Linked DNA regions of Homo sapiens: all the other regions are linked to region 5. Evidence: promoter capture Hi-C in 16 types of primary human blood cells and fetal thymus (Javierre and others, 2016). All regions are on one chromosome and are shown on one strand. Each heading gives the region's core, a stretch centred on a gene start or on the middle of the fragment in contact. The rest is flanking DNA. Distances are from core to core; before and after follow the strand shown. Region 1 has its middle 5.8 kb from the start of LINC03122. Region 2 overlaps ZSWIM6 (zinc finger SWIM-type containing 6). Region 3 overlaps ZSWIM6 (zinc finger SWIM-type containing 6). Region 4 overlaps ZSWIM6 (zinc finger SWIM-type containing 6). Region 5 holds the start of SMIM15 (small integral membrane protein 15). Region 6 has its middle 57 kb from the start of LINC03122.

Region 1 (4,879 bases), core at 386-2,885, 470 kb before region 5:
ACCAGTTGCATTGTAACACCTGATTTCCAACAGTGGCCCCGGGTGAGGCCTCATGGTATTGGTGATATAGATAAATGAGAGAAAATAGTTGCTGTTAATTTAAACAAGTTACATTTAAAACATTGACCAATCAACATCCCTGTCTACCCTCGGACAACCTAAAGAACTCTAGTGGTGTTACACAGTAAAAAGCGGGGTAGTAGGTGGTGTGTTACATTTTCTTAAAAGAAAATTCAAATTGGCTACTAGAGTTTTTGACCTCACATTGACCATGGGCAGACTGTGTCTTTTTAAACTCATTTCCAGAGTGCTTGAATGAGGAATGACATTTTTCCTCCTAGTGTAGACCTGGTCCCGAGTTATTTCCTATGGCTACAATGACTATTCTAAGGAATGGAGAAAATAGAGATGGATGGATGTTTGATGGGAAATTTTACACTTCTCGTGAGTCTTTTTTTTTGTGGGGTTCTGTATGTTTGCTCAATTGCAATTACCTGTGTCTTTCTTCTGTGGCTGGATTAGTAACTATTCAATTCATCCAAAGAATAGAACAGTGCCACTAAAATGAGTGTTCTTCTCCCAACAGGATACTTAGGTTTTGACTGAGTAATCAAACTCTGCAAGAAATTTCACCAACATATTTATTATACCAAGTGACAGGAACAGGAGATATGTTTTGTTATATAATATATTATAACTAACTAGAAGAGTAGACCACAAAAACTTCCTTAAACATGAAAGTCACACCTGCCCATGTTCCTACGTACATGCAGTGATAAATTTCTGTCCCCATTTCACAACCAGGTTTACCAGATGACCATGCGAATAAGAAGCATATAAAGCAATAAGTATACTTGAGTGAAAGAATAAAGCATTTTTAAAGTTCCAATTTTTCCACTGAATCATTGCTGCCAATTGTTGAACTATGGGTAGGGAGAGTGGTCTGTTCTTGTTATAAGGCTGGGATTTGCCATATAAAAGTGGGCCTAGACAGCACAGTGAAGCGAATTCTATAATTTCTGCAATTACAATTAAAATCTCTGTTCCCCCTCATCAAGCTTCTAAGCAGACCTACTCACAGATGTTACCCTGCCTCATTTGAGGTCCATTTCTATTTCCCACCCTCGGTGGAGCTGCTAATAAACAGTGAAATGGCCAAACCAAAGAGAGAAAAGAGAGAAGAACCAAAGGCCAGAATCATCTATAAGTTGAATAACTTGTACTTGAAAAACAGTGGTTTAACAGTAACCAAATGAGAGTATGTGCCTGATTTGTCCATTCTCTTTCAGGCTGTCATTTCAGGTCCTGGCTTTATCCTACCTCACAGGCCATGTTATTGAAATAGAAAAGCCACATTAATTTGGTGGAGGCTTCTTATTTGATGTCCTTAAAATCACATATAGCAGTGACTTTTTTTTACAGCATCTTTCACCTTCTTGCATGAGGGTTTTCCTTAGGTGGAGGGCTCTTGAAAGTACTTTGCATTTCATTCTCCCAGGATCTCTGCTCTGACTCTTGATACATTAGTCACAGTTCCAAGAGGGAACAGGGTAAATGACTTCATAGTCAAAACCCAAACCTAAACAGATGGTTCCTTTATCCCAAGAAAATGCAAAGACTTGTAGGTCTCCTGTGGTAATGGGATTTGGCCTGAACGTTAAGGGATACCAGAGTCAGCAGGCTGGGATTCAGGCCTGGGAGCCAGGCATCACGGGCTTTCTTCTTATTTCAACTCCAGGCCAATTGACTATGTGGTCTTCCAGCCAAGTATTTGCCCAGGATATGCTAAAATGACAAATGCCTGAGAAAACCGTAGGTAGGCTGACCCCATTCTCCAAGTGTGGCCTTGAACTACCAAATACATCAATTCACCGGAGGACTTGTTAAAAATACAGATTCCTGGAGCCTGCCCCTGGAACTCACTGGAAAATTTTATGCTCACTGAATTATGAGGACCACTTCTAGACTCTTCCTACTCAAAGTGTGGTCCTGACACCAGCAACATCAGCAACACCTGGAAGGTTGTAAAAGATATAGAATCTCAGGCCCTGCCCCAGACCTACGGAATCAGAACTTGCACTTTAACAAGGTCCCCAGACAATTCCTTGAAGTGTGAGAAACATTTTGCTAGCATGGTTTGGCCCTGTAACCTAGTTCTCATCAGCTGGGAAGTGAGATGCAGCTGGGAAGAGCAATGCAACAGGAAGCTTCTTCTCAACCCTAATCTGCATATTAGGATTCACTAAGGAGCTTTTCACAATACTGACGTCAAGGCCCTACTACAGGCTAATTTAATCCAACCTCCTGGATTAAGAGCTCATCTAATTCCAATGTGTAGCCAGAATTAAGAACCACTGTTCTATAGGAGCAAAACTCAGAATCAAAGCTTAAAGCCCTTGGTACTAACTACCCAGCCAAGTCCCACTCCCCTAAAAAGCAATCCGGCATTTGCTTGAAGGGATTCCTAAAATATTTGCCCTTTCCTAAGAAGAGGCAGCATCGGCCTTTTGAATGGCTACTCATTGTCCATGCTTCATAAAAATATGCTGGGCCTCCACTCCCCGGGAGCTCGAGGGCAGCGTTCCCGTTTCTGTTTCCTTTGTTAACCAAGTCCCAGCTCTGGGCTTCCTCGGGATGGGAAATGGCTCCTTCTGAGGCAGCGTTTCTCTTTGCCTTTTCTGCCCCTGGGATTTGTGATTCTGGACAAGGCATATGCCTTCTTACCATGTCATTTTCCTCATTTGCAGAGGGAAAACACAGTGTCCATTGATTCCTTTGGTTAAGCTGACTGCTGCCCCTGGCTCACGTCCAGTGACTATTTCTCTGTGCAGCAATCCTCAGCTGGGGGCGAGCCAGGAGGGAGATGGCTGCCCACTTAAAGCACAAGCCCCGAGTGCTCTCCGTCCTGTGAGCTCTCCAAATGCCAGCTTGCTCAGCTGATTCACTTTGACGCAGGCAGGTTCATCAGAAAGCCTTGGAACAGGTTGGAGAACAGAAATGCCACTGGATTCCTTTGAATTGTGTGCATTTAAGTGCAGGCTCCAGTAGATCCAGGCTCTAGGACTATAAGCCTTTCTTTTCACAGGAAACCCTCCTAATTGGTCTGATAAACTTTCTGGGACTCAAAATAGAACCACAGCACAGGGAAGTATCACCTTTGTGTCTCTAATTGTTGATAATGTCTGTGTTTCTTTTAATATCTCTATATTACATGCTGTTGCCATCATTCTCCATTTCTCTTTACCCGCTACTACTAATAATATTGAATGCTTTGCTGTGTGCTGAAGCATTTCACATTTGTATTATCACATTATCCTCACCACCATTTTGAGAGGTAGGGGTTATCATTGTACCCATTTCACAGATGCAAAACTGAGGTTTAAATAAGTTCAGTAACTTATTTGTTTGTCCCACATTCCAGGGAGTAAAAGTGACAGAGACTGGCTTCATCCAGATTTATGTGATTCCAACATATGGGACCATAAAACAGGTCCCGTTCCTGTTTATAAAGGTTTCCTGATCCCACTCCCTCAGTGCTTCTTAGGGCCAGGGTCTCCCACACTAAATCTTCCCATCTGGATCTGTTTGTTTGGGGCTTGGCCATAGCATATGGTAGAGTCAAATGGATTCAGGACTAACAATGAGGATAAGGGAGTGGGGAAGGGAGTAAACTTAGATTCCTATTTCTGTCAGATACCAAAATTAATTCCATATGAACTAAAACTTTAAGTGAAACAAGCCGGGCACAGTGTCTCATGCCTGTAATCCCAGCACTTTGGAAGGCCTAGGTGAGTGGATAACTTGGGGCCAGGAGTTCAAGACCAGCCTGGCCAACATGGTGAAACCCCATCTCTACTAAAAAATACAAAAATTAGCTGGGCATGGTGGCTCATGCCTGTAATCCCAGCTACTCAGGAGGCTGAGGCAGGAGAATCGCTTGAACCCAGGAGGCGGAAGTTACAGTGAGCAGAGATTGTGCTACTGGACTCTAGCCTGGGAGACAGAATGAGACTACATCTCAAGAATGACAGCAAAGACAAAAGCTATAAATTAAAATATTACAAATTTTGACTGCACAACATTTTTTGTATTATTATACTTTAAATCCTGGGATACATCTGCAGAACGTGCAGGTTTGTTACATAGGTATACATGTGCCCTGGCGGTTTGCTGCACCCATTAACCTGTCATCTACATTAGGTATTTCTCCTAATGCTCTCCCTCCCCTTGCCCCCACCCCCCAACAGGCCCTGGTGTGTGATGTTCCCCTCCCTGTGTCCATGTGTTCTCATTGTTCAACTCCCACTTATGAGTGAGAACATGGAGTGATTGATTTTCTGTTCCTGTGTTAGTCTGCTGAGAATGATGGTTTCCAGCTTCATCCATATCCCTGCAAAGGACATGAACTCATCCTTTTTTATGACTGCATAGTATTCCATGTGTATATGTGCCACATTTTCTTTATCCAGTCTATCATTGATGGGCATTTGAGTGGGTTCCAAGTCTTTGCTATTGTGAGTAGTGCTGCAATAAACATGTGTGCATGTGTCTTTATAGTAGAATGATTTATACTCCTTTGAGTATATACTCAGTAATGAGATTGCTGGGTCAAATGGTATTTCTAGTTCTAGGTCCTTGAGGAATCACCACACTGTCTTCCACAATGGTTGAACTAATTTACACTCCCACCAAGAGTGTAAAAGCATTCCTATTTCTCCACATCCTCTCTAGCTTCTGTCTTTTCCTGACTTTTTAATGACCACCATTCTAACTGGCATGAGATGGTATCTCATTGTGGTTTTGATTTGCATTTCTCTAATGACTGGTGATGATGCGCTTTTTTTCATGTTTGTTGGCCACATAACTGTCTTCTTTTGAG
Region 2 (4,221 bases), core at 214-2,713, 340 kb before region 5:
GCTGGATATATTAATCTCATCTTCAAAGTGGCGGGGGGAAACAGACTTTGTGCTCTTGGGAGCATTTTGGAAGTATTCCTCCTAACAGGATTTTCTCTCCATTCCAAGCTTATATTTGACCCAAGTGCCCTGTTTGGGATTCTTCCATTCAACTCATTCCACCCTTGATCATACACAAAGGAAGACTATGGCTTCCAATCTAAGCCACTTCAAGGTCTCTCTCTGATTCCTACTTTATTAATGTTTCTCACTCTCTTCTCCAGGTTTGCTGAAGCAAATTTTGAAATTTATTAATCTAGCTAGTCATAGCTTAAAATCACAGAGATTTGGCTTTCTATTTCAAAGGTTATCTTTGCAGCAGAAAGCACAGAGAACTGAGTGAGTTACCTACATTTTTCAGACAACTAGTATCATTACCCTGGGTATTCTGTCAACCAGATCAAAGTCTAAGAAAATAGCCCTAAGACCAGTTATTAACTCCCTGAAGCAAATTAACATCAGAAGGCTCTAGCATTTTACTATACAGAGTCTTTTTCTTATATTAATTTTGGAATTTTAAAATAAAACATGAAAACAGTGTTATACAATTATCAGACAAGCTTGCAAGCAGCCTCACAAAAGTTCACTTGCTGCAAATCATCTGCCATCTTGCCTTCCCCTAAAGTATATAGGAAAAAGCTATTTATATAAATTTAAAAGTCATCCTTTAGTACAGCAGTCCCCAACCTTTTTGGCACCAGGGACTGGCTTTGTGGAAGAAAATTTTTCCACGTATGAGTACTGGTGGCGGGGGCGGGGTGGCAGTTGCCGGGGCATGGTTTTGGGATGAAACTATTCCACCTCAGATCATTAGGCATTAGATTCTCATAAGGAGCACGCAACCTCGATCCCTCATGTGTGCAGCTCACAACAGGGTTTGTGCTCCTATGAGAATCTAATGCCACTGCTGATCTGACAGGAGGTAGCACTCAGGCAGTAATGCTCAGTTGCCTACCACTCACCTCCTGCTATGTGCCTCAGTTCCTAACAGGCCACGGACTGATACTGGTCCACAGTCCGGGGATGGGGGAACCCCTGTTTTAGTACATGTCTAACAAGAGTACCTATTAAAAGCCTACTGAAGATAGTGATTATCAAGCATGCATTTATAATATCGGAATCCTTTCCTCCAGAACAATCTTGATGAAAACCCTAGTAGTAATGTGGTAAAGTCACACTGCTCTGATTGAGAAGGATCTGCCTCGTCCCTTCAGCACTCGCTTCCCCCTGACCCCAAACCTAGGGGCTCTGCAGGGCAGTGTCTGAACACCCCCCTCTAAGGACAACCATTTCTAACTTCCTTGGGTTTTCCTCCCCATCATGAGCCTAACGAAGCTTAAATTAACTATGATAGCATGTATAAAGCACCTTGCTTGATATTGGCACATACACAGAGCTGCCTAAGGAGCTGCTTCAGCCTTCCCTTTGCTTCCACTTCTTTCCTTCCTGCTCCTGGCATCCCTGATTCTCTGTGAAGCCCCTGGGAATCCCAGATGGCTTAAAACGAAGCTTCTCAGACCTCATTAATTTTTCTATGCTGCCACTTCAGGGTAAGAAATGGTGAAAGGAAATTTTCTTCCCCAGCTTGTCTTGCTTCATTTTCACTCTCGCTCTCCCCCTCCACCCTACCATGATAGTACTCTCTAGATCCACAGCCTAGTAAGGAGACTTCCCTAGCCAGAATTCCCATTGGTGGACATTTCTTGAAGGCAAGTGCGGTCAGTACTATCTCTTAGGAAACAGGAAAAGTAGGGAGAGAACCTTTCTAAGAATTATGAGAAAGAAGAGGACACCTTATACCAACGCTATGACATTCCTATTAACCACTAATGTGAGAAGAGTATCTACTACCAATGGACTAATGCTGTAAGTAGAAAGATGACATAAAAGAAAGTAACTGGAATCGATTCTTGATACAAATAAAGCTACTAACACACAACATATATAAGACAGTAACACTCAAGTGTATTACAATGAGCCTTAAAGCATCTTAATTCCTCACCAAATCTCCATGTTTAGCATATGGTTTCATAAAAACACACAAGGAGGTGAATCTCCAGTGTTGTTACAAATTATCTAATTCTATACAGAAACAGTTTAGACAATGGATACTACTAAGAATTTCCAATTGGTTAGACAATAGGATCAAATGACCTGTAAAGTCTCTTTTAATCCTGAAAATCTATTTTTTTAATTCGTATTTTAAAGTTTTTCTCTTTATTTCCACTCTTCCCTATACAGGTAACTGAATGGATAATTAAACCCTAGCAGCCACAGTCAAGAGGATAGTTGATAGCAGTACACAGCAAGTATTTATCCTAGGTTTGCCCATACATTCTCTCTTTTGGTTTACTTCTGACCCAAACTAGAGATTACTCTGTTTACTTAAAGAAGCAGAAAATAAACCCCTCTTTTCCACCCCCACAGCAGGGCAGAACTCCGAGGTCTATGACCCAAGAATACAGAGTTCTGAGTTTTAAGAGACAGAAAGCAGTAGGACAGCACAGGGAAAGAAAACATGCCCCAGTAATGAGGACCTAGAAGCAGATGAGCCTTCTGAGAACAGTGCTGGAGGGAAGTAAAGCCTTCTCAGCAATACAATTGACCAATCCTCTGTATTTACAGGAAACTCTGAACAAGGCAGAGAGAAGCAGAAACTGAGACCAGAGTATACAACCCCATCCCAGCAGGACAGCTTATGTCAGGAAGGGGTCTGCAGAGCCTACAGAGCCATATGAGATAAACTAGTGCTGGCAACTCTGTGGTCATTATCAGCGCCTAGTTCAGGCCAGGGCAAAGACAATGAGCTAAGGGTCTTCACCGGCTCCTTACCAAAGGGGACCTGAAAATGGGATACAAACTTCACTGTATTCTATCCTACAGTAGTACCCCATACTACAGCATGTAGTACCTATATTTATGATAAGCTGAAGTTTATTATTTAATACAGTTCTCAGTCAATGGCACGTATTTGGCTATTGGATCCATGTGCTTGTTTTCTCAAAGAACCTGAAGTTAGAGGGTCCCTGTAAACATGGGTACAAATTAGCGACTAGACTAGGTAAGCTCAGCGGACTATGGTAGTCAGGATTGTGGTACCATGGGTAGGCAGACAAGGCCAGGCAGCTCTTACAGGGTTTATTCCCCACTAGGTGAGCTTCGCTTTGACCTTGCTCTGCTCCGAGTAGAGAGACTACCTGGAAGAGAGGCATATAATAGTGTTTAACAATAAGCTGGCTAGGTACGGTGGCTCATGTCTGTAATCCTAGCACTTTGGGAGGCTGAGGTGGGCATATCACGAGGTCAGGAGTTCGAGACCAGCCTGGTTAACGTAGTGAAACCCCATCTCTACTAAAAATACAAAAAATTAGCCAGGTGTGGCAACCAGCGCCTGTAGTCCCAGCTACCCAGGAGGCTAAGGTAGGAGAATTACTGGAACCTGGGAGGCAGAGATTGTGGTGAGCCGTGATCGCACTACTGAACTCCAGCCTAGGCGACACAGCGACTCTGTCTCAAAATAATAATGATAATGATAATAATAATAATAATAATAATAATAAAGCTGAGGACATTGTCTAGACTGGTGGTTATGTTTTTGAAGTCACTGACACCTGGGATTAAATTCCTGCTTTGCTACTGTGACCTCGGGCAAGTTATCAAGCCTCCTTAAACCTCAGTATTATTGGCTGTAAAATGAGGGCAAATAATTGGACCTATTTCACAGGATTGTTTCAGGGATTAAATAAAACAACACATGCATTAAGTGCTTAGCACAGTTCCTGACAAATAAATGTTGGCAACTATGTTATCATTAGGAGCTAGACCAAAATGAGAAATAAAGCAAAAATCCAGGTTTTATGATACCTGTCTACCATCTCCCTCTTCTCCGCTTTTAAGCAACAATACAGAACAGCAAGGTTGGATTGAAAATCTCAACAGTTTTGATAATGAGTTTGAAGGCTCTCTACTCTCCTCCACTGAGCCCACTGCTGTCTTTGTTCAAGTTGTTTCTTTTTTCTGGAGTATTCACACTGCTTCTTCCCTGCAACACACCTCCATAAACATCTTATAAAACCATATTAAATTTGGTTTCTATAAACCTTTGTACTAATTTGTAATGAAATTACTCTATCAAAGTTCTCCTTCATCCATTCTTGGCTGTTCTTATTTATCACATCTCCT
Region 3 (4,322 bases), core at 201-2,700, 290 kb before region 5:
AAACAAGCTTCACTAATTAATGAAGTCTAATGAGAAATCTGCCTTCTCCATTTAAAAGAAAGAACCTTTCCTCTATCTTTATTGCCATTCTGGGGTAAAGTATTTTCCCTTCACAAAAACAAGAAGTTTGTCTATGCTGGGAAAGATAAAAAAGAGAAACCCATTTGAGCTGCCTCAAATAATCATGAATACTCTTGCCTCCCTTACAGGACCAATGTTAACTTAGTACTCCAAGTAAAAATGTCTTCTGATTTTGAAGTATCTTATGCATCTGTCTTCAAAAGCCCCAAGTTATTCATAAAAAGCCCTCAAAATTTAGAAATGTTTAAATAACATTTTTAACTTTTAAATAATATACTTAAATAGGATCATAATTTAAAGCATAATTTGGATTAAAAAAATAAAAAGTAGTTATTCTGTCAGTTGAATTACTCTGACATTGGTATCCTGACTTCCTGAAGCTAACTAAAACATTCCTGCCATGATGCCAGCTTCCTAGCCAGGCTTTCTGAAAGAACTAAGGGAGCTCAAGTTCCCCCAGCTGAACAGGAGCCAAAATATGAACCACTGCCTCTTCTGTGCAGTTGTAAGCAGGATAAATTGCTCATAAATCAAAGCTGTCTTTATTGATCACAATGACAACAACCACACTAGCCAGATGGTCAGTCTTCAGGGTTCAGGACATACTTTTAAGGTAAAAGGAGCTTCAAACTACAGACCTTGGAAACAGACTTCTTGGAACCACATTATCCTTAAATAAATAAACAAACCTCAATTTAATAAAGAAAAATTACAGATAGCTCTAAGAAATACACTTGACTACTCAAGTATTCCCAAAATGACCATGGCAAATGTTCCTGGGGTTCCTCTTCCCTATACTCACTTATTTATTTCTCCATTGAGCACGGGCTTATCCCTGCCACAAGCTTTACCTTCATAAATCATTGTTTATTATTTCATGAGGGTAAGAGTGGTATTTGTCTTGTATACTACTCACAAATTTGGAGTCCTGTATTTAGTAACAATAATACTAATCTTGATTATGTAGATCAAGCATTCATAGTACAGTGAAGTATAATCATAAATTCACCACCAGGAAATGATTTAAAAAAAATCCCCACCAGTGGCTACCCTATCAGAAGGCTTTATTAACCCACTCTAGGAAAAATGTGGCAATGTGGCAATTCAATGAAGTGTATACTTTTTTGTGGCCCTTACTTGGCCTAGCAATTATTTATTTTTAAATAAATCACATAAATGAGAAATCATTTAAAGCAAGAGTCTCTGGAATGCATTCCCATCTGGTCCCAGCCCTTCCCTTTCCCAGCAGAATGGAAAGACTGATGAGTCACTAACAAACCACCCACAGCCATCTATTTTTCACTGCCTTCAGCAGTACCCATTTCATGTGTGGGGCAAAGAAGAATTTGAACAAATCACCATTCTTCTTCCTACCTTTCCTACTACTGCCAGATTGTTGGAGGGGAAAAATGAGTGGGAAAGATTATCCAAGAAGGGCAGAAAGAAAGGCAGGATGGAAAAAGCGGGCTGAGGATGTTGAAAGGCTCAAGAGGCTCCTGGACTGTTATTATATTGAATTTCTAAGAAGAGGTTGAGAGGTGGTGACAGGGATATATCAATTTGGAACACGTAATTTTCCTAAAAAGGAAACTATTCTTTCATTCCACTGAAATACTGTATTCAGCAGGGTCAGTCCAAAACTGTTCAATGCCCCAACCCATCTCTGTGTCTTTCTGGTTAAGCTGGCAGTGAGGTGACTGATTATTCATACATTCAGTCATCCTTCCTTATTAGCTTACTGCCTGGTCACACCTGGAGATCAACTGGGAACAGGTGTTTCACTCAGAGTGCCTTCCCATTTGCTTCTCCTTGTTCCTGTCCTAAAGTACCCACCCTTACAAGGAGAGGGGAAAAGAGCATAAAGTGATGGAATGGGTGCCCCATCAAGCTTTGTACAGTCAGTCTTACAGTATACTGTCAACCCCAGTTTTGCCGGGCATGTGACTTCTGGAACTATGACAACAAAATCTCAGTAGAACCAAACTACCAAATACCTTTTGAGGTGCAGACTGATATAATTTTACCAGAGAATTGTGAAGTGGTACATATGGCCTTATTCAAACCTAGGCTGTTAACAATTAAATAAAAAAGTATTTCTGGGTACAATAGCGTGCATCTGCAATCTCAGCTACTCAGGACGCTGAGGCAGGAAGACTGCTTGAGCCAAGGAGTTCAAGGACAGCCTGGGCAACATGGTAAGACCCCATCCCTAAACAATAAATTTAAAAATATTAAAACTCTGGAAATAAATTTAAAAAACAAATTGCTAAAAAAGTTTTATAAGCCTAATAAAGAATGCTTCATTACATACCTTTCAGTAATATTAAACATGAAAGTCAATGTGTGACCTCTTTAAGCAAAAAATTGGGCCTAGAACTCAAACAAAAATAAATGGTTTTCCCAGCTTCAGAGAAATAGTATGAGAAACCAATGTAATTATAAAATAGTGGGCATCCTACTGGTGTAGGTACTTTCTAAATTACTGCTCTATTCTATCATTAGGATGAACCCAGGACTATACAAAACACTTACCAGGAGTCAACATTCTTAGGTGTAAATGCCCAACAGGAATTGTATAGGATGGCCAAAGGGCTTTAAAGTGGGAACGGAGATGCTTTGGTTACAAGGACTACCAGGGCAACAGTGCTACAATTTTGTGAGGTTTGCCAGCAGGTTCTCCTTGCAGGCAGCATTACAACTAAAAATGTCAAAATATCCTACATATACCTATTACTCTCTATTCCTACTGCAACTGTGATTTTTTTCAGACTACTTCAGTATTTCTAGTCAAGGCTAGTCTTAACTTCCACTCCCATCTATGGCCTTATCCTTTCTCTTCATTCCTAAAACATGCTTTTGTCTTCTGCATAGCAAATACATATTCTTATCATACCCCCATATATTTCTTGGTTCAGTGTGTTTATTGTACTGACACTAAGTGTATCAGATCAGAACCAGTCTGTCTCTCTCAGGTTGCAAATCCTTTCAGAATGCACAGCAACACCATTATCATCTACCCTCCTCCCCCAAACAGAACATGTATATATTTATATACATTATCTCATTTACTAGAAAACTACAGTATTTGATAAAAAGAAAAATTAAGTTTGCAAAACATTTTAATGAAGTAGCATTGTTATTCAACAAACCAGTTACAGGGAAGAAAATGAAATAATGAATGAGAAGGAAACTAATTTAATATAGGCCTATGTTCAATTGTATAGAACGTGATATTCTGAAAAGTGATTTTTATGATCTCACTTGACCCACAAATCCAAATATATAAAGAAGAAAGTGACAAGAGTCATGTACTATGTTAAGTGCTTTTCACAATTGATAGTTTTACAACTCAATAAAATACGTATTATTTTCCCCCTTTGGAAAATAGGAAACTCAGAGAGGCTATGATGCTAATGCACTATGGAAACTGGCCCAATTGTCACATAGAACTGATGTTTATGGTTTCTTTTGAATAAACACAGAAATTGATCCTCCCAGTCTTAAAACTTGAGAAAGTTAAAACTGTCTTATCTGAGTTCCTTTCTCAAGAAACCATCAGGTCTCCCAGAAAGTCTCAAATGAACTATAATTACCAGATACCATATCTGGATAATGAGACACCAGACCCCTCACCCATCACAATTGCCTAACTGACCACCTGCTTCCTGCTGACCAACTTCTCTTTACTCCTCCCTAATTCCTATTTTAGCACACATGGTTACATTTCTTCCCTGCTATATAAACCCTTAATTTTAGTCCATCAGGGAGATAGATTTGAGACTGATCTCCCCCATCTCCTTAGCTGCAGCACCTGAGTAAAACCTTATTCCCTGGCAATACTCACTGTCTCAGTGATTGGCTTTCTGTGCAGCTACTTGCAAGACCTAAAACAAACCTCTAGCATGTCAGTAACAGATTTTGATTCCCTGACCTGAACACATTGCTTGCCGGTCAGCTGCTGCAAGCCAGGAGAATTCTTAGAAGCCCTCCTAAGAAACTGCCTGACCCTTTTTTGGCTGGAGGTGGGTTTTCGTCTCTCTCTTTGGCCACGCTGCTGCCTGACTGCCTAGAAAAAAACAGCCTTTGAAATCTGACATCTATGTTCAGATGAGTGAGTGTCCTTTGTGGATACCAGCAGCTGGATTTGCTCCTCTAAGAAATTCTGAAGGAATTTCTGTTTGCAGGTTGAACAAGCCCAACTGACTGAGAGAGGAAAGCAACCTTTCTGTTTCAGTTTGGAC
Region 4 (4,741 bases), core at 741-3,240, 260 kb before region 5:
TATGTTGGCCAGGCTGGTCTCAAACTCCTGACCTCAGGTGATCCACCTGCCTTGGCCTCCCAAAGTGCTGGGATTACAGGCGTGAGCCACTGCGCCTGGCCCTCACCACTATTATTCAACATAATACTGGAAGTTCTAGTTAAAGTAATCAGACAAGAGAAAGAAAAAGAAAGAAAAGAAAAGAAGAGAAACGGCATCCAAAGTGGAAAGGAAGAAGTCAAATTATCCTTGTTTCCAAATTACCTTATATTTGGAAAAATCTAAAAACTCCATTAAAAAACTATTTGTTCTGATAAACATATTTAGTATAGTTGCATGATACAAAATCAACATACAAAAATCAGTAGCATTTTTATATGCCAACAGCAAACAATCTGAAAAATCAAGAAAGTAATCTTATTTACAATAGCTACAAATAAAATACCTAGGAATTAACCAAGGAAGTGAAAGATCTCTAGAATGAAAATTATAAAACACTAATGTAAAAAATAAAAGAAGACACACACAAAAATGGAAATATACTCCATGTTCATGGATTAGAAGAATCAATATTGTTAAAATGTCCACACTACCCAAAGTAATCTACAGACTTAATGCAATACCAATCAAGATGCCAATGACGTTCTTCACAGGAACAGAAAAAAAAATCCTAAACTTTGTATGGAACCACAAAAGACCCAAAATAGTCAAAGCTATCTAAGCAAAAAGAACAAAACTGGAGGAATAACATTACTTGACTTCAAATTATACTACAGAGCTATAGTAACCAAAACAGTACAGTGCCAGCATAAAAATAGACACTTAGTAAGTGGAATAGAACAGAGAACCCAGAGATGAATCCATATATCTACAGTGAATTCATTTTTGACAAAAGTGCCAAGAAAATCCTTTGGGAAAAGGACAGTCTCTTCAATAAATGGTGCTGGGAAAATTAGATATCCATATGCAAAAGAATGAAACTAGACCCCTGTCTCTCACCATATACAAAAATCAGATCAAAATGGATTAAACACTTAAATCTAAGACCTCGAACTATTAAACTTCTAAAGGAAAACTTTGGGGAAACTCTCCAGGACACTGGGCTGGGCAAAGATTTATTGAGTAATATCCCACAAGCACAGGCAACCAAAGCAAAAATGGACAAATGGGATCACATCAATTTATTATTTAAAAGCTGCTGCACAGCAAAGGAAACGATCAACAAACTGAAGAGACAACTCGCAGAATGGGAGAAAATATTTGCAAACTACCCACCTGACAAGGGATTAATAACCAGAATATACAAGGCTGTGCTCAAACAACCCTAGAGGAAAAAATCTAATCGATTAAAAAATGGGCAACATTGATGACATACTGGCTAAAGAAAATGTGGTACATATACACCATGGAATACTATGCAGCCATAAAAGAGAACAACTTCATGTCTTTTACAGGAACATGGATGGACTTACAGGCCACTATTCTTAGCAAACTAATGCAGTAACAGAAAACCAAATAAAACATGTTCTCACTTATAAGTGGAAGCTAAATGATGAGAACTCATGGACACAAAGAAGGGAACAACAGACAATGGGGCCTACTTGAGTGTAGGAGGAGAAAGAGGAGCAGAAAAGATAACTGTTGGGTACTGGGTTTAATACCTGGGTGATGAAATAATCTGTACAACAAACCCCCATGACATGAGTTTACCTATGTAACAAATCTTCACATGTACCCCTGAACCTAAAATTTTTTTTCATGTGATACATATGCACAATGGAATACTATACAGCCATGAAAAAATGAGATCCTATCATGTGCAACAACATGAAGGGAACTGGAGGTCATTATGTTAAGTGAAATAAGCCAGGCATAGAAAGACAAACTTTGCATGTTCTCACTTATTTGTGGGACCTAAAAATTAAAACAACTGAACTCATTAAGAGAGTAGAAAGATGATTACCAGAGGCTAGGAAGAAAAGTGGGGATGGTTAATGGGTACAAAAACAAAAACAAAGACAGAATGAGGCCAGGCACAGTGGCTCTAGCTTGTAATCCCAGCACTTTGGGAGGCCAAGGCCAGCAGAACACTTGAGGCCAGGAGTTTGAGACCAGCCTGGGCATCGTGGCAAAACCCCATCTCTAATAAAAAATAAATAAATAAATTAGCTGAGCAGGGTGCGCCGGTAATTCCAGCCACCTCGGAGACTGAGACATGAGCACTGCTTGAACCTGGGAGGCAGAGGTTGCAGTGATCCAAGACCCCACCACTGCACTCCAGCCTGGGTGACAGAGCAAGACTCCATCTCAAAAGAAGGAAAAAAAAAAAATAGAACGAATAAGACCTAGTATTTGTTAGCACAGCAGGGTGACTATAGTCAAAAATAATTTAATTTTACATTTTAAAATAACTAAAAGAGTATAACAGGATTGCCTGTAGCACAAAGGATAAATGCTTGAGGTGATTGATATGCCATTTACCCTGATGTGATTATTACATGTTCCATGCCTGTATCAAAATATCCCATATAGTCCATAAATATACATACTCACTATGTACCCACAAAAATTAAAAATTAAAAATTAATCATCATTATAATCAATTATCAAATCAAATTGTTCTAACGTGCACCTCCCTACACACTCTCTACCACCACTCCCCGGCAGCCTCTGTTCTACTGCTACTTAGTCAGTATAAAACATGGATAATGCTTAACACCATGCCCCAATTCACTGTGATATCAAAAAAAAAAAATTGTGTTCTGGTAAAAAAAATACTAGAAACTTCTGTATGGAGAACATTTTAAAACCTTATTATAAGTGATCTTTCTTCCTATCTGATGTTAAATGAGTCATCTACTGGTCTAGGAGCAAGTGAAATGTCTACAATATTGTTAAAACTTTCAGATATATAGTAAAAAGCTGGACATTAGTATCATTTTGTAGGTCTTTCACATGCTCCATCACTTAATCCTATTCTGTCATTAGACAATGTGCTGGTCTCTAGAGCATGTGTTAGGTTCTTTGTACAGTCATTTTTTCATTCTTTATCAATTAATTCAATGTGATGCCCTCCAGGCAAAGATGAAAGAATTTAAAGATTACTCTTGCAAATTAAAATGTTTGGTGTTCCTAAAATAACCATAAAAATATCTGAATAGATTTTACAGTTTATAAAGTACTTTCTAATGTATATGACACAACAATCCTGTGAGATATGATCTTCGTGTTACAGGTTAAAAAACTGAAGTTCAAAGATGTCAAATGGTTAACCCAAATCCATGTTTCTAGTAAAGGGCAAAGTTGGATCTCAACCCAGACCTTCTGATTGCAATTTCTAAGATATTTCTATTGATGAAACCACAACTACTTCTAACACAATTGCACACCTAACTCCAGCCCAGATCAACCTATTGTATATCCTGTTCTGTAATTCATACAACCAGAAGGCAAGGGCCACAAACTACCATTGTCCTGAAGGGCACATCCCTCAGAAGAAAAAAGCCTTTCAGGAGAGGCTTGCATTGTGTGGACAAGGCATGATATTCTAGACCAGTGCTGTCTAATAGAATTTTCTACAATGATGGAAATGTTCTATACCTGAGCTGTTCAATATATTAGCCACTAGCCACATGTAACTATTGAGCACTTGAAATGCATCACTGAGAAAATGAATGTTCCATGTTATTTAATTATAATTAATGTAAATCTAAATAGCCACATGTGGCTAGTGGCTGCCTTACTGGGCAGCTCAGTTCTAGACCTTGAAGACTGGAAGCAGAGCTTAATATTAACATCCAAATGGTATAGCCTTGAGTACAAATGAAAATCAACTTAATAGTGAGCCCAGAGCACAGCACTGATTTACTCAGTGGTTCATGAGAACTGTAATGGATGTGATACCATCAACAGTAATATAACCAGTGAGATAATGGTAGAATTATCTTTCAATCTTTCTAAACCTCTCTGGTGAGCCAAATCCAAAGAGTGACTAAAGACACCAAGGCATGTTGATAGTATCAAATACAAAGGGCAAATAACTTTAATCTATAGGCCACAATGGCTTTCCTGAGAGAAAATTCATTACTATACATGGAAACTAACCCAACTAAGTTATAAAGAGGAGGCCGGGCGTGGTGGCTCATGCCTGTAATCCCAAAACTTTGGAAGGCCAAGGCAGGGGGATCACCTGAAGTCAGGAGTTCAAGACCAGCCTGGCAAACATGGTGAAATTCTGTCTCTACTAAAAACACAAAAATTAGCCAGGCATGGCGGCGCACACCTGTAGTCCCAGCTACTCAGGAGGCTGAGGCAGGAGAATCGCTTGAACCTGGGAGGTGGAGGTTGCAGTGAGCCGAGATTGCACCACTGCACTCTAGCCTGGGCGACAGGGCAAGACTCTGTCTCAAAAAAATAATAGTAAGTTATAAACAGGAGCTGAGGGATGTGAAAAGCAAGGTGTCTCGTAAAGTAAACATTATTTCTCTAATAATAACACTTTATCCCTGCACTGAAAAATTTTAAAGAGCATCTTAAAGACCATTCCCTTGTCTCTGTCCTTAAAGTACCACATCCATATTTCTATCGCCATCTACCACTTCCCTTGGAAACATTTGTTTCTGTGTCTTGACCCCTCACTCATCTAGATAGTCACTAGAAGGTTTCATTTAAATAAAAATCATAGAGTAGGCCGGGCACAGTGGCTCACACCTGTAATCCCGGCACTTTGGGAGGCCGAGGCTGGTGGATCAACTGAGGTCAG
Region 5 (4,837 bases), core at 865-3,364:
GTATACATAACATTACTGTACCACAACTGTGAATCTCAGTTCACGAGCTCAGACTTCTCTTTATGGAAAGTAGTTCACAGTATTTGAATCAATCCTGACACCACCTTTAGTTAAGGCAATGCAGACTGCAGTAAGGAGCTCCACTGTGGCAACCCCTATGCTGTTCCTGGTCTTGCAGACTGTCCTGTAACTTGAAGCTAGATGAGCAAACTTAGATTGTAAAGGCATGGTCTAGATCAGCAGTCTCCAACCTTAATGGCATCCAGGACTGGTTTCGTGGAAAACAATTTTTCCATGGACGGGGATGGGGGATGCTTTCAGGATGAAGCTGTTCCACCTCAGATCATCAGGCATTAGATTATCATAAGGAGCGCACAACCTAGATCCCTCGCACATGCAGTTCACATTACGGTTCGCACCATGAGAATCTAATGATGCTGCTGATCTGACAGGAGGCGGAACTTAGACGGAAATGCTCACTCACCCATCGCTCACCTCCTGCTGTGCGGCCCCGTTCCTAACAGGCTGCAAACCAGGTACCAGTCCGTCGTTGGGGACCCCTGGTCTAGATTACAGCTAAAGAACTACAAAGGCTTTCTCTTTATATGCCCTTCCTTCCTGCCCAAGACTTCTGGGCTTTTAACTAGGGATGCAGCACTGCAAGTATCCGGAGGCAGTAACTGGGAAAACCACCTATCATGATTAAAATAAAACACGCATTGGCCTCTGGAACGAAGGATGTTAAAATAATACATTCTGCCCACATCTTGGATTCAAGACTTGGGGAAGTTTTAGAAAAATCAGTTATCTCAAGTAAGTATTCAGTGCACACAATCCAGTGACTGAGTCTACTTTTTCTGGCTACTAAGGTACAGGCTAGGCCTAAGCAGCATAGGCTTTGAAACTATCATCCAGGTTTTCAAATAAAAAGGAGTAAGAAAACAACTGCTGGTAATACAACATTACAAACATTAACATATGCCCAACGAACAGTATCGTAGATCGTTAGATTATCTGCCAAAAGCCTGTTCCCTGGTAAATAACAGTTATTGTTGTTTTACCTAAACTAGTTAAACATGTCGCAGCTTGCTCCTGAAAGAGAACATTCTATAGTCTTTGGAGAATCAGTGAAGAGGTCTTGCAACATTTGTCAGAGGTAGTCAAACAGTGCAAGCAATCACAAAATTTGGTCACCAACCAAACCAGATTAGCTAATCTTTCAGTTCCTGTAGATTAGAAGACAATATTAACTCACCCTTTCTGCATGTTGACTTTTGCATCCCTTTATTTGTGTATTGAAAGAACAAGCACCTCTATGGGAACTCTATGCCCTGACAGTTTAATTACTTATCAAGTTTACTCTGGGCCGGTATTGATCATTCTTTCGTGAAACGAATTAGATACTTAAATTAAAAACAAACAACAAAACCCCCCTTTTCACATAGCATGGCGGCATGTCCCTTGGTAACAAGGTTGAGTGGATCCACCAAGGCCCAGTAGCTTGCCTCCTTTTCGTAAGGATGTAACTATTGTCCAACCAGAAGAGAGAGGCATGGAGTGGGATGTGCACCAGGATGAACTCGCCGGAATCGTCAAGAGTCGTTGTGTGACCCTCACCTTGACTTCGGGCGTTTTGTGGGGACCCAACTGCTTTCTTGCCGCTGCTCTTTGGTCTGAGTTTCCCTCAGCCAAACACTTCACCCACCCATGACCCTCCAACTGTCCCGCTACAGCAGGGGATGGGGGTTGTCTTCCGATCGACCTCGGGGGGCAAAGGCAAAAGTCCCTAGCTGCTTCGGAACCGCTCCTCGAGTCCTGAAGCCGCTCCACGCCTCCTCGCCCACCACTTGGTCCCCGCAGGACGTGGCAGTCTCGGGCTCCAGCCTGGAAAGGAGCCCGCCCGGGTGCCGTCACCCGCCCCGCGCGGCCTCACCTGCCGCTCCCCGGAAATCTCAGCGCTGCCCTGCCCCCGCCCCCACCCTCCCGCGTCCTCCAACTCGAGGTCCCAAGACCCACACAGCAATGGCGCAGCCGGAAACTGGGCCCTAGACTTACTCACGCCCGGCTGGCGGCTCGGGTCGCCTGTGGGCGGGACGCAAAGGCCGCGACTTCCGCCTTCCTGCTTCCGGTCTGGCGGTGAGTGGGGAGTGGGATCCGATCCCGTGGGGCTATGTAGGGGAAGTTGGTGGCTGCAGCTGCCGTGGTTTTCTCCTGGTGTCCAGCAGAAACGGCGGCGGCGCAAGGTGTGGCTGGGCCAACCCAGGATCTCCCAGGACCCTCCGCTCTGCGCGACAAGGGGCCCGCGCTTGCCAAGGCCGACGGGCAGGAGTGAACGTGGCCTCCGTGGGTCTGCAGCCCCGATAGGGTAAGGAGGGAAGAGTGAGCAAGGGAGAAACGTAAGGAATAAGGGAAAGACAAAGGAGGAAGTGCGGACGGCCGTCAAGTGCTACCCGTTGCAGCCGCAGGGGCCACGCGGGTCTGGTTGGGAGATCGAGCCTGGTCGATCCGTTTTGGGCGGAAGAGTAGGATTTATTCCTGAAAGTGTGGAGGCGCGAGCGTTTGGGTCCGAAGTTGAGTTGCAGGGAGATGTGTGGCCTGTGGACCATGGCTCTTTTACTGCAAAGTTCTTTTGCTTATTTCTGAAACTTACATTGTTTATTCGCTACTGGGCTGGAGAAGGTGAAGGCAGATCGATCTCAGTAGTACCTAATTCTAACTGTATGGGTGAGGTCGTATGAAGTCCAGGAGCTAAGATATTTAACGTATTAGGCACTTTCATGTGTGTTCAGTTGAAAATCGTGGGGAAGATATAATTAAAACTAGTCACAGTTTTCTTGGGGTAATGGGACTGTGGGTGAATTACTATAATTTGTTTGGTTATGTCTTCTAATTTTTTAAGTAAAGGACACAAATTGTATGATGGACCCAAAAAAACCTTTATAAAGAGTAAGATGAGCTGTTTGATTTTGTAGTGGTGTACCTAATCCAGTAAATAAATGAGTGGCAACATTTTTAGTATAAAAATTGAAAATCTAGGAACGGATACGCTGTGTAAGTCAGTCAGTGAGCCAACTTGTCTCCCGTATGTCAATGAACTAAAAAAATTTTATTATTGAAATAAGTAACTTAGTAAAATACTTGATTTCCAGTAATTAGGATTTTCTTACAGGGCATTTGCAATTGTAAATTCAAATGAGGAAGAAACGTATTAAGTTACTATACCGGATAGGCAATTTTAGATGTCATATAGGTTGCATATATACAATATAGAAATTTTCCATTTAAAATTTTATTACAATTATCCTGAAATTGTGACTTAAATTTTGTTTTATTTTTTGTATTCTTTCCAACTAGCCAATTGTACAGAATTTAAACCGTCTCTCAGATGTGTACAGTAGAACTCAAGAAGACAGACTACCAAGGGTCATCTGAAGTCGTGATTGGGTCACTAATAACACCAGGACAAAGTTAAGGGATCACTACTCAAGCATAAGGTAGATGATTTTTTTAAAAAAATTCCAGTTGAAATTGTAAGTGGATGTATATACACTCATTCCCTACCCAGGTATTCTAATTCTCCACTTTGAATAGCGGTTGACACAAACATGAAAGGGAGAAAAGCCTCTGGGGCAAAATAGAAAACGTCACTCAAGTCACATAATCCTCATTTGCCAGTTGCCTTTTCCTTACACTCAAAAAGGAACAAAACACATGGCATCTGTTAAGGCTACTTTCTCATTTATTAAATTAGGCTTATTCCAACAGAGGTCCTCAAAGCTGAAAGGGCATAAAATAGCACAGTACTTTTTGCTTCTTTGGCATATTAATGCGATGTCATGACTCCCTTACCCTCTCCTTCCCATTCGGGGAAATAGTCATCTCTCCTTCTCTGCGAGCATTTCACATGCTCTGTTGCTTGTCCTTTTCAAACACCAAATTTGCTGATTTGTATTTTTGTTAATTAGTAATACTAAGGATATGTCAAAAAATGACAAACTGTATTCAGCTGTTTCCTGGAATGACCACAGAAAACTCAAGATTTTTATAAAAGCCTCCTCCTAAATAAAGTTTGTCTTGAATATAGGAGGCATGTGAGAATGCATAGTCCTTATGACAGAGTCACATGGCTTTTTTAAATCTTCTATAACTTTACCTCTTTGAAGTGTCACTATTCTGGCTGTACTAGATGAATTACTTTTTCCTAACCAGAGATACTAGTCCTTATTACAATAGTACTAAGTTGTACTTTTTAAAAAAGCAAACTGAGTGATAATGGAATCCTGAGTTAACTGGTTGTGTGAGGAAACTTTTTCAAAATTTGATTAACCACATAGTCTTTTCTCCTGTTTTTTTCCTCTGTGTTCTCCACCCGCCTCCCCCAGCCCCAGTTTTCATAAGACTGCTGTGAAGATGTTTGATATAAAGGCTTGGGCTGAGTATGTTGTGGAATGGGCTGCAAAGGACCCCTATGGCTTCCTTACAACCGTTATTTTGGCCCTTACTCCACTGTTCCTAGCAAGTGCTGTACTGTCTTGGAAATTGGCCAAGATGATTGAGGCCAGGGAGAAGGAGCAAAAGAAGAAGCAAAAACGCCAAGAAAACATTGCAAAAGCTAAACGACTAAAAAAGGATTGAAGGACTGAACAGGCTTTGCAACCAGAGGAAAATCATTTGGAAAATTACACAGCTTTGGAAGAATCCACTAAAGTTTCTTCTTTGGATTTCTTGACAGTATGATTTAGTAAATGAAATTTGACCAAATGGAAGAATCATGTTAGTTCTGACCTCAATACTATAGTAACTTTTAGGCGTGGGTGTAGAAGTTTATAGGTTTCTA
Region 6 (4,865 bases), core at 802-3,301, 420 kb before region 5:
TATTCAGTGGAAACCGTACTTCAAGTACCCATACAATCATTCTGTTCTTTCACTTTCAGTACAATATTCAATAAATTACATGAGACATTTAACATTTTATTAAAATATAGGCTTTGTGTTAGATGATATTGCCCAATTGTAGGATGATGTAGGTATTCTGAACATGTTTAAGAGAGGCTAGGCTAAGCTATGATGTTTGGTAGTTTAAGTCTATTAAATGCATTGTCAACTCATGGTATTTCCAACACACGATGGGTTTACTGGGGGTGTGATCCCATCCTAATTCAAGGAACATCAGTACTCAGTTTTCCTAGCCACGTTCCAGCCAGCAATGGCCATGTTCTGGTCAGTGGACGTCACAGGGAAACACTTCCCTTTCCAAGTAAAAAGACAAAGGGTCTCAAGGAAAAGACTGGCATTCCCCCTTCTTCCTGTCTGGAGCAGTCTTGCAAACAGGAAGCTTGAAGCTGCATGCTAAGAATGATGGAACAGGATGATCCAAAGCAACTGATAGCATCTCAGAGCAGCGGGATCAGTCTTGGGCTGTCCACCTCCACACTTCTTGTTATTTGAGGAAAATAAAGTCCAACTCATCATTTAAATACCTTATAGTTGGATCTTCTGTTAATTGTAAAAGCAAAACAAAAGCACAATCTTCTTCCTAAATTGTACAGGTATGATCACACAGAGACACCTAAGATCCAGCATATTTCTTCACTTCTGATAACAAAGAATCACAATTAAAGTGTTATTACTTGTTTTGGTGGTGTGGGGAAAGGCACAAAGAGGAAGACTTCAAAATCCCCCACAATTTCCAGAACCGGGGATAGAGCTGCTGATATTGTGTTGTTTGAATTACAGACTTCCTATTCCTTTGTATTCAGGGATTTTTCAAATTTTGATATTTAGAAGGCTGGATGAGACTCAAGTCTCCTGACACAAAAACTTGAATGGTTTCACTTCTCAAACATTTCAGTCGAATGTTTGCCAAAGTTTTTATCTCAGGGAAACTATTTGCTGAGTTTCTAATATTATGTAAAATACCAAAGTAAGACTTCCCCCAGGGGATTATATTACTATTTAGTTTTATATTTCTTCTGATGCCTCCAATAAATCATGAACTTCTTCAGAGATGTCAGAGGGCAGTCTGTCTCTTTGACTGCAAATGACAAGCCATGAATAATGCACACAGCTCTTTCACAGAGAGGCTCCCAAACCATACAGCCTATTGCCTTTGTCTCTGGCTTGCTATTGGACAAACTGCTTCCATGGAGCCTGGTTTCTGACTTGCTGGATGAGCTCTAGGCTGGTCAACCATTATGAATCCCTGGGGTCAAGCACACCACCACAGTATCTGGGGTATCAAGAGGTGGCTCCAACTTCCAAAAGAATGAAACTAGAATACTCCAGAGAAGGCAGCCAGTGTGTTCTAATCTTCTCAACTAGACTAGAAACTCCTTGAGGGCAGTCTTGGTTCTCTAAATTTCCTAAGGTAGTGCCTAGATCTTAATAGTGGCCTTATTAATATTTATTTTATGGAAGAATGAACATGTGGATGGATGGATATGTGGTAGGTGGGTGGGTGGATGGATGGATGGGGTTACCCTAAAACTTAAAGTATAATAATAATAAAATAAAATAAAATAAAATAAGAAAAATTAGCAGAAATAAGACTACCAGTATCTAAGATCATAAAGAGTAGAGAAAATAGTAAATAAAAGCTTGTTTACTGAAGAGTAGCTCAGGAGAAACTTCATTAAAATGGCAAATGGAGAAAATATAAGTATAGCATTACTTTACATAGCAAAAGGACAGTTTAGAGAGCCTACTCACTTGAAGGTAGGGCGAGCATAATACTTTCTCCAATGTTCTTTATCCTAACACATATTTTCAACATGCTTTCTCCCTCTTCATTTTTTATTGAATTACCAAAGTAGCCGTGTATACTTTTTTTGAGACAGGGGTCTCACCATGTTGCCCAGGCTGGTCTTGAACTCTTGGCTTCAAGTGATCCTCCTGCTTCAGCCTCCCAAGTTGCTGGGATTACAGGTATGAGCCACTGTACCCAGCTTAGGAACAGTGTATACTTACCATCAACACAAATACATTAGAATCTGGCTTTCTCTTTAGCCAATCTTTTGAATCTGCTTTTAAATACCTCATTAATGGCCTCCAAGGTGCAATATCTGTCTAAAACATCTTATTCTCAGATTATATGATGTTTTAACACTTCTCACCACTTCTTAAATTTGCCGTGTTTCTTCTTTCTTAGTTTCTACTTCTCTGCATTCTCTTACTCCTTCACGTACCCCATCCTTACCCTACTTTTTTTTAGGTTTGCTGCCTCCTCTGAGCCCACTCCTTCCCATTCAATAAGCTTTTGTCACATTCTGCCTTCATCCTCTTCTCTGCTCATGCTACAGTCCTCTGGTGATCTCATTCACACCTCTAACTTCAAGTATCCTTTTAGAGTAGATGGTCCCCATGTGATGTCTTTGACCCCAAAGTCTAGACTGTATGTCTTCATCCACCCTTTAATTTATCAAACATTTATAGTGACCTTGTCATGCATGATGTTACTAAAAATTGAGTACCAAGAAAAACTTGACTTCCTTTAATGAATCAAAGTTTAGAGAGGAGACATAAGTAAACAACAATAATGAAGGATAACAATTGCCACCATAGAGGAGTACCCACCAAGGAGACCTCAAAGGAAGGGCCAAGTGGCAGGTGGCCCGGCGGATGCAATGGCAAAGGGCATTCTAGGCCGAGAGAAGAGTAAGGGTATGAAGACTCAAGAGAGCTTATATTTGTCACCTAGTAACTGTCAGTTTCCTGTCAAATGCCAGGCACCCTAATAGATGTTTTCACAAAATAATATTACCTCACATTCACTCAGTGATTATTAAATACCAGGCACTTTTCTAAGTGCTTATCATAGAGTATCTTACATAATCTTCATACAACCCAAAAAGATAAACATTATTACCCTCATTTTACAGATGAAGAAACTAAAACCCATCTGCAAAGTGAGCTCTGTGACTTAGTTAAGGCTTGAAACAGCAAGCAGCAGAGCCAGGGTCTTAGGACTGTGTTAGCTCCATGAAGCAGAAATTCCTCAGGTTAACAAGTAGAAGCAGACCTTATTATAAGGTAAGCAGGATGTCTCCTAGAACTCAAGAGTAAGAGCCATGAGAAGCTGGAACTAGGTCTGGCGAACCAGCAGATCAAGGCAGCTACTTTCTTTCTCCTTCCCTCATCAGATTGTGCGTCATCCCTGCTCCTCACTAACTAACCACCTGTTCCACCCTCCTGCCTCTCTCTGCAGCTGCAGACCGGCCCTCTCGCCTTGCTCATCATGCTCCATCATATCATCATGGAGGCTCAAAAATGGCTTCCTTGTCCCCCCAGACTACAGCACCCTTACAAGTCCAATATACACAAAGACTGATCATAGTCATGTCTACTAATTCCAAATTCTCATGAGAGAGATTTGGATTCACCAGCTCCTATCAGGTAACAACTCCTGACCCCATCAACTATAGCCAGGAGCTGGTAGAGGTGGATTAGAAAGTACCAAACATGGATGCAGGAGAGGCAATTCTCAGGGAAAGATGCATGGATTGGGCACACATCCTCAAAACATGTCTTTTTTTTTTTTTTTTTTTTGAGACGGAGTCTCACTCTATCACCCAGGCTGAAGTGCAGTGGCACCATCTCAGCTCACTGCAACCTCCACCTCCCAGATTCAACCAATTTTCCTGCCTCAGCCCCCCCAACTGGGATTACAAGTGCCCACCACCATGCCCGGCTAATTTTTGTATTTTTAGTAGAGACGGGGTTTCACCATGTTGGCAAGGCTGGTCTCGAATTCCTAACCTCAAGTGATCTGCCAGCCTCAGCCTCCCAAAGTGCTGGGATTACAGGAGTGAGCCACCACGCCCAGCCAAAACATGTCTTTTATAGTTTAGGTTCCATCCCAGGTGTTCTGAGTTCAAGTCATATTTTTTTCTCTATGCCACACTACCTTATCTTAAACAAAGCATATCTAAAATCAAGCCATGCCCCCTTAAACAAGCCCCTCTTATTTTCCTAATTCAATTACTGACTTAACATCAGCTCACCCTTTCTGTTTAACATTTCAAAGTTAACTTCAATGTTTCCCTTACTTTAATACCCTACACCTAACATTCTGCCCTAAAAATATTCAAAAAGGTCTTCCAGATTAGTCACTTTTTCCAACCCCAAAGATCATCTGCTGTTTCAAAATGCAACAGTGACTATCATGACTTGTAAACCAAAGAGCCAGACCAACATTTTACTCAGAAAGCCCAAGAGTAAAGCTGTTTGGTGAAAGCTGGATTAAGCTATTTTAGGCTGAATCAAGAAAATTGTAGGAACAATTGTTATTAATAGTATACAAAAGAAAACTAGTAGCAGATGCAGGATGACACAGTGAGTAACATTTGTAAAGTGAGTAAAGTGAAAGGATGGCATTGGGTTTGGTCTATTTGGTTAAACCTGAACTGATGAACTGAGAAGGAGATAAAAGAAAAGGAAGAATGAGCAAGTGAGATGGTACCTGGGGATAGAAGACAGCAAGCTAAAGACATGGGTGACAAATGGCAAGAAACTCACCAAGATTAATGAAGATCTCCACAAAACAAATATGACCAATCTGAATTAATGTCTCCAGCAGCGTTCTGGCCTCCCAGGGCGAGAATGGCCTGAATTAATGCCAGTTTCTGTGGTGTAAATACTCCCACCATGGCCATTTCAAACTACCATTGTAACCTCACTGAATGAGAAATTAGGAAGAGATGTTTGCAATTGACTTTCATGAGCCAGTGAGACCTAGTTCCAGC

The links. The method cuts DNA at HindIII sites, captures the fragments that hold promoters and counts their contacts. A CHiCAGO score of 5 or more calls a contact.
Region 1: a fragment that was not itself captured here is called in contact with the fragment with the promoter of SMIM15 in region 5 in 2 of 17 cell types (total B cells and total CD8 T cells); the score reaches 5.6 in total B cells.
Region 2: a fragment that was not itself captured here is called in contact with the fragment with the promoter of SMIM15 in region 5 in 2 of 17 cell types (total CD4 T cells and total CD8 T cells); the score reaches 5.8 in total CD4 T cells.
Region 3: a contact is called between a fragment that was not itself captured here and the fragment with the promoter of SMIM15 in region 5, in 1 of 17 cell types (monocytes). The highest score is 6.7, in monocytes.
Region 4: a contact is called between a fragment that was not itself captured here and the fragment with the promoter of SMIM15 in region 5, in 1 of 17 cell types (monocytes). The highest score is 5.2, in monocytes.
Region 6: a fragment that was not itself captured here is called in contact with the fragment with the promoter of SMIM15 in region 5 in 1 of 17 cell types (activated CD4 T cells); the score reaches 5.3 in activated CD4 T cells.

Annotation. Positions count from the first base shown.
Region 1 is chr5:61,629,586-61,634,464 of GRCh38, reverse strand. No RefSeq gene overlaps it. Among named protein-coding and RNA genes, the nearest start is that of LINC03122, 5.8 kb to the left of the region's middle. The HindIII fragment of the contact is 1,149 bases long and covers 1,061-2,209 here.
Region 2 is chr5:61,499,479-61,503,699 of GRCh38, reverse strand. All of the region lies in intron 4 of ZSWIM6 (zinc finger SWIM-type containing 6), which reads right to left. Among named protein-coding and RNA genes, the nearest start is that of LINC03122, 140 kb to the left of the region's middle. The HindIII fragment of the contact is 174 bases long and covers 1,377-1,550 here.
Region 3 is chr5:61,447,383-61,451,704 of GRCh38, reverse strand. All of the region lies in intron 1 of ZSWIM6 (zinc finger SWIM-type containing 6), which reads right to left. Among named protein-coding and RNA genes, the nearest start is that of ZSWIM6, 120 kb to the right of the region's middle. The HindIII fragment of the contact is 1,043 bases long and covers 929-1,971 here.
Region 4 is chr5:61,418,485-61,423,225 of GRCh38, reverse strand. All of the region lies in intron 1 of ZSWIM6 (zinc finger SWIM-type containing 6), which reads right to left. Among named protein-coding and RNA genes, the nearest start is that of ZSWIM6, 89 kb to the right of the region's middle. The HindIII fragment of the contact is 6,718 bases long and covers 1-4,741 here.
Region 5 is chr5:61,159,745-61,164,581 of GRCh38, reverse strand. It overlaps SMIM15 (small integral membrane protein 15), which reads left to right and starts at 2,114. Exons shown (of 3, transcript NM_001048249.4): 1 at 2,114-2,365; 2 at 3,355-3,494; 3 at 4,383-4,837. The coding sequence starts at 4,411. The coding sequence ends at 4,635. SMIM15-AS1 (SMIM15 antisense RNA 1) reads right to left here and starts at 2,266. Exons shown (of 4, transcript NR_109908.1): 1 at 2,056-2,266. RefSeq lists enhancers at 1,426-1,485, 1,526-1,625, 2,156-2,415, 2,486-2,565, 2,051-2,947 and a silencer at 1,866-1,975. The HindIII fragment of the contact is 8,836 bases long and covers 1-4,837 here.
Region 6 is chr5:61,578,710-61,583,574 of GRCh38, reverse strand. No RefSeq gene overlaps it. Among named protein-coding and RNA genes, the nearest start is that of LINC03122, 57 kb to the left of the region's middle. The HindIII fragment of the contact is 656 bases long and covers 1,724-2,379 here.